Regions from separate parts of the Homo sapiens genome. Here region 2 is linked to region 1. The links are contacts of gene promoters, found by promoter capture Hi-C in human tissues and cell types (Jung and others, 2019). All regions are on one chromosome and are shown on one strand. Each heading gives the region's core, a stretch centred on a gene start or on the middle of the fragment in contact. The rest is flanking DNA. Distances are from core to core; before and after follow the strand shown. Region 1 holds the start of FUS (FUS RNA binding protein). Region 2 has its middle 31 kb from the start of KRABD5.

Region 1 (3,283 bases), core at 633-3,132:
AAAAAAAAAAATAAAAATAGGACCATGTTGCAACAAAGGGCATAAAATTCCTCCATGAGACACTGGTTGAGAAGAGGAACAAACTGGCGTTATCAGCCAAGTGTTCTTACAATAAAGAAAAAGTGAAGAAAATGCAAGTTTCTACAGAGTCCCAGAAGCCTTAACCATTGGAAAAACCAAGGTCTTGGTGGACATCCACAATTTTCTGCAAGCCCAATTCATGTCAGTGATTGCTCTAAAACATCGCGCATTCGTTTCATCCACTCTATGAGAAAGCCATTATCGCCAGGAGTCAAGAGACTAACTCTCCCAACGTCGCAGAACTACCAAAGTGGCACAGGTTTGAATTCGAACAGTGTTCAGATTGTGGCCTCTGCTCTCTCAGCCCAGACCCACAGAATAAGAAAGTCTCAAAAAAGGCCATTCTTCACTCTTTGACCAATCCCGGAGATGAAGTGGGCTTTTTAGTGCAAAGCCAGAGAATCAAAAGAGCCCTTGGACCCCAAATGACAGAGATCATGCAACTGCTCGCCTTAGGAGGCGAAAGTCAACAGGTACTCGAGTCCCCAGCCCTGGGACTCCAGATGGTTCCGTTTTCTCACCTACCCTGCCTTCCCCCAGCGAACAAAAAGCAACAAAAGCGCTTTTGAAAAGCCCCACTTAAGATACACGAACAAGATCAACTCATCCTCCCAGCACAGGAAACGCGGCGCTTCCCCCGCAGGAAAAGGGAAAGAGGACCAGGAGAGGGTGTGGCCTCGGGCGGCCGTTCTTCTCCGTCCCTATCTCAGAAAAAAGAAATTTAGACCAGGCGTGGTTGGCTTACGTCTGTAATCCCGACACTTCGGGAGGCCCAGGCGGGCGGATCACCTGAGGTCAGCAGTTCGAGACCAGCCTGACCAACATGGTGAAACCCCGCCCCTACTAAGAAACACAAAAATTAGCCGGGCTGTGGTGGCGGGCGCCTATAATCCCAACTACTCAGGAGGCTGAGGCAGAAGAATCACTTGAACCCAGGAGGTGGACGTTGCAGTGATCTGAGATCGCACCACTGCACTCCAGCCTGGGCGACAGAGGAAGACCGTGTCTCCAAAAAAAAAAAGAAAGAAATTTAGGCGGGAAAAACTCTCGGGCCGTCCCCAAGTCCGTTGGTCGAACCCTGACCACCGCCGCCAAACCGTTAAGCTAGAGGGCGGCCCCGATCCCGAGCCTCCGCCCCCAGCCGCGTGGCAACCCAGGCGGGAACGGAGCGATCCCGCCCATTCGCGAAGGACCACTGAGGGACAAGGCTCACACCGGACGCGCGCCGCCGAGTCTTCCGCGAAGGGTCTCGCGACAGAAAGCTGAACCAACACGAGGCGGGGAAGGGGTACCCGCGCCGCGAAGGGGGAGGGGCCCGCAGAGCGCGTGCGCGCCGCGAGTGCCCGGATGCAGCACTGCGACAAAGCGGGCTCGAGCGCGGGGCCGGGAGTTGGGGGAGGCGAGGCCACGGAGAATGGGCGTTTTCCACCCTCACCTGACGCTTCAAACCCCTAAGAAGCGTCCCTCCCAACGCCCACCCCAAGCAAACGGACTGCAAAGAAAAGACTTCCCGCCCCGCGCGCGAGGGCCAGAGGAGCGAAACAAAATGGCGACACCAGCCTCCTCCAGTTACTCTTCTCCGCGGCTTCCCGCCACAGGGGCGCCAAAAAATCCCACACGGGATCGCCGCCCCGGTCCCACTGAAAACGAAAAGCCCAGCTGGGAGGCCTCGGCCGGGTGCGCCGCCGCCGTCGCCTCGCGCCCTTACCTACCGTTTGAGGCCATGTCCGCGCACGCGCGCACAGGCAAGCAAGCAACGAAGTTCCAACACCGCTGAGTACCGACGCCTGGAGGACTGAGCAGCCCCGCCTCCTGCGTCGAAGCTTAAGTACGCTCCGCCGCCTACGCACCGCGCAGGCGCGCACCAAACGCGGAAGAGCAGGGGGAGGCAGGAACGCACTCCGCCCCCTTCGTAGGGCAGGTAGAGGGTCCGAGCAGGCAGAAGGGAAACAAGTTAACTAGAATCATGCGAATACTATACATAATCATATTTTTTGAGGAAGAACCCCTCTCTCCTCGGCAGGACTAGCCCACGATCTATCTCCACCCCCATGAAGGCACAGTGGTACGGCCTGAGTGCCCGCTGGGGGCGGGGCGAGGGGGCGGTCCCGGCGGCTGGGGACGAAACTGGAGTCACAGCCGGGAGTAGCGGGGTGGAACCGAGATTCCTGTGGCCGGGCCCCTTCGCTGGGCCCCGCTTTCACCCAGGATGGCGAGCTCCTGCCCTCCACCCTCTTGCCGCTGTATGGGGCGCCTCGTCCCCGCGGCTCCAGCCTCCCTCGTCGGCAGCACACTGGCCCTCCCTCTCCTGCGCCCTGAGGTTGACTTCGTCGTCTTTCAGGGTTGCCTTGCCTTTCGGCCTTTCTGGGGTTCGGGGATTATGACGTTTGACCTGAAAGACAGCAGGGATTTCGGCCGGGACCCCTGGGCCCCGGGCTCGTCCAGCACTGGGCTCTCACCCGGATCCTCATGGCTTTGCCCCTGGGGAGCCACGGGGCGGAACAGCCCAGGCCATCCTTGGGACCAGAGAGGGTTGACCTCAGATGTACGGTACCCAGCCTTTTCTCAGGGACCTCCTTTTTATTTTTCTGAAGCCCTACCAGGGCGATCCCAGAAATAAAACGTGTACAAGGCTTAAGTGGTTTCAAAATGCACAGATAATTTCCTTGTCATCAGTCTTACGAAGGAAGTAAAGATACCTCCGTTTTCTAGATAAGGAAAGTGAGACTCAGAGACCCAAGTAATTGTGCCTGATTACAGGGCAGCTAAGAGGAGTCGTGATTCGAATCCAGGTCTTGTAACTGCAAAACACTCCTCTTTTTGGTGGCATGAATGCTAGAGTGTTTGGTCGCCTTTTCACTTCCTGTGAGAGCAAAAGCAAAAAGAAACATTCAAATTAACTTGCAACTTGCACTTTCATCAGCCTTGCCTGGAGAAGGCAATTTGAAACTACTGAATAAAACAAGACAAAAGACGTTAATTCCTGATACATAGGCATGCAGGTTTTCCTTCCCAACTTAACCTTTCAGCGGGATTTCAGAAGGTCCTTTGAGGGTTGGACACGTCTTTCTAGAGAAACAATGAGGGCCATGCCCTGGGCCCGCCCACAAATTAAGCCCCACTAAGCCCTTGACTTCAGCCCTAAAGGCCCTGAATATGCCAATATCCACCCCACCGCCTTTGGAAGGAGAGTTCAACTCTC
Region 2 (2,858 bases), core at 155-2,654, 500 kb before region 1:
CCATCTCAAAAAAAAAAAAAAAAGAAAAGAAAAAAGAACTGAATTATACAACTCCCAGGCTATTGATTCAGAGAAATCTCCATACATTTTGGTGACAGAAGACACAGAAGTATTCTGTATTGATTGTCGAGTGAGGAAAAAGGAAAAACACTTTGGTTGATTTATTTTTTCTATATCTCTCTGAGTTAGAAAAGTGAAAAATAAGGTGGGGATGTGTATATATTAATGACAAAAGTTGTTCAAGAGAAAGATGTATCAAACTGGCATCTACAAAGGCGAAGTAAAATGGTTTTGATAAACTTATCCCAAGAAATGTGGAGAAACAGGTCTAAGAAACACATTCTATTGGAGGAGACCATCGTGTTTGTGAAAATCTCCCTGGGCAGTTCTCACACGCAGCCTGGGTTGAGATCTGCATCCCTAGAAGAAGAGGGTTATCTTTGTCATGCACTGTTCTGAGGAGAGGGGTGACCTTAGTGCTTCCTCATCTTGTTTTTTTTGAGACAGAGTCTCGCTCTGTCACCCAGGCTGGAGTGCAGTGGCACGACCTCAGCTCACTGCAACCTCTGCCTTCTGGGTTCAAGCGATTCTCCTGCCTCAGCCTCCTGAGTCGCTGGGACTACAGGCACATGCCACCACATCCCGCTAAGTTTTGTATTTTTAGCAGAGATGGGGTTTCACCATGTTGGCCAGGCTGGTCTCCAACTCCTGACCTTGTGATCCACCTGCCTCAGCCTCCCGAAGTGCTGGGATTATAGGCATGAGCCACCGCGCCCGGCCTGTCCTTACTCATCTTAATGTGCCACAGGGACGCGAAGACTTCAGTAACTGGGAGTCACACCCAGGTGCAGATTAGAACTCTCTGCTGAGGGTTTTACCATCCTGTGAGGTCTCATCCCAGAGATTCTGATAGGATGATCCAGCTTAGGGCCCTGGCATCAGCAGGCCTGAAGCTCCCAGGAGGCCCTGATGCACTGCCAGGGCTGGGCCACTGACCCCCAGAGGGCCCCAATGCCCAGGGAGCTTTTTCCCCTGAGGTAATGAGGAGAGCTTCCTGGACATCTTGGGGCCTGGGGCAGAGGACTAGGGTGTGACCGAGGAGCTCTTCTTGAGATAGACTCTGGAGGGATGTGTGGGTTCTATACTAATGTGTTTTTCAAATCTGTTTAAGGCTGTTTCTCTTCTTGAGGATATGTCAGGAAATGCTTGTGTTCAGCTTTTGAGCTTAGGGAAACTCGTCAAACCTAAGGAAAATTGTTTCCATAATTTTTGGGTAAATGAAAATAATTTCTGATCCCATGATACAAAGCTCCATGAAGTTCACGTTTTCATCTGACTCATAGAAATACAAAAACATTTTATTTTTGCCTTCTTTTTGGTGGGTACAGATTTCTTTGGTGATAAATGACAAAAAGAGAGGAAGGAAAATATCTGGGCTGTGATGGGGACTGGTCTCTACCTGTTTTTCTGAGGGTGTGGCTTCAAAAGAGTTAAATCACACACACCACTACAAAAATTAGGAATACCAATCCCTTTCTTTTAAGATAATAAAATGGAAAATACCCAATGGACACAAACATGTTCAAAAGGTTTTTTTTTCCTCTCAAGCCAATTTCCACCCTCATAAAAAGAGACAAATGATTATATGATTGGATGCTAACTCCATTGGACATTCTATAACTCACTCAGCTGCTCGTCCCCCATAGAGGTGAGAGGAACAGGCAGTATGTTTTATTAGTCATGTTATAGTAGTAAACATGTTTTAATGAAAGCTTATTTGATTTCCATTGATCCTTTGAATCCATATGAAAAAGCATGGCTGTCATTTCCTGCCCATATCTGACCACATTCAGATGCTCTGGGAACCATAAATAAAGAAAAAAAATATTTACTCCAATGTTCATTAATTGGGATTTTAAGTTGATGTTCCTTCCATAGAGCCTGAGGGTGGTGAAAATGTGACAGGGGCTGCTGTGGTTTCCAGAACGAGCTCCCATCCTCTGGGGGTCCTGAGATGGATTGATCCTGGAGTCCAACACAGGATCCAACACAATGGATTGATCCTAGAGTCCTCTCAAAAGGAAGGCAATGGTCCCATTGGATGGAACATGGGTGGCTGAAATCCTGGGGGGAGCAGCAGGACACACCAGGGGCTGGTGGCCAGGCAATGCTCACCACAGCTGGAGGAGCATGTGGGTGTATGTTGCTGTGGTTGGCAGATACATCTGTTGCTACTGCAGGAAGAGGAAGAGTTCCTGTTCCTGGCAGTGCTGGAATAGGCGTTAGCTGGATCCCAGCCTGCGGTTCTGTCCTTTTTCTTTTCCTCTGACTGCTTGGGATCCTCTCCATTTTCTACGGAGTCTGCAGCCCTTGACAATCAACTTATTAAAGGATTTCTCTGCAGCCACTTCTGTAGCCTGCCCTGTGGAAACCTGGACGAAAGCACACTACTTTCTGGTCTGCACAACAGTGATCACTCAGATCTTCAAATAACTAGAAATGATTATTTAGATCTGTCTCAGTAATGGCATCACCCAGATCACCAACACAGAGTCTGGTGATAACCTTGTCCTCTGGTGGATCTGGACAAGACATGGTGAAGCCTGCTTTAGAAGCTTATCTGCTCCAGAGTCATTGATTCCATATCAGTCTTTAATATTCTTATCAGCAAGGGGGTCATCTGGATCTGTAGGCTTCCCATGTCTGTGTGGGCCCTCTTCTTCTCCCTCACACTCTCCTTTCACCCAGAAGGAGCAAATGTGCTTATTCCTTTGGTAGTAGGGTGTGGTCTGTGCCAGTTTGTACAGCACGTCACTGGTGTATGTGACTCTCCCAGCTGGCCAACTAGCTGTGTTCTG

Evidence for each region. The method cuts DNA at HindIII sites, captures the fragments that hold promoters and counts their contacts. A contact is called where the count stands out against the background at its distance.
Region 2: a fragment that was not itself captured here is called in contact with the fragment with the promoter of FUS in region 1 in 1 of the 25 tissues and cell types used here (thymus).

What each region holds. Positions count from the first base shown.
Region 1 is chr16:31,178,738-31,182,020 of GRCh38, reverse strand. It overlaps FUS (FUS RNA binding protein), which reads right to left and starts at 1,882. Exons shown (of 15, transcript NM_004960.4): 1 at 1,794-1,882. The coding sequence starts at 1,806. RefSeq lists enhancers at 607-656, 757-816, 847-936, 362-1,122, 1,123-1,884 and 4 more and silencers at 1,167-1,216, 1,337-1,486, 2,127-2,196. The HindIII fragment of the contact is 19,228 bases long and covers 1-3,283 here.
Region 2 is chr16:31,681,208-31,684,065 of GRCh38, reverse strand. It overlaps the pseudogene RBM22P12. Among named protein-coding and RNA genes, the nearest start is that of KRABD5, 31 kb to the left of the region's middle. The HindIII fragment of the contact is 6,049 bases long and covers 1-2,858 here.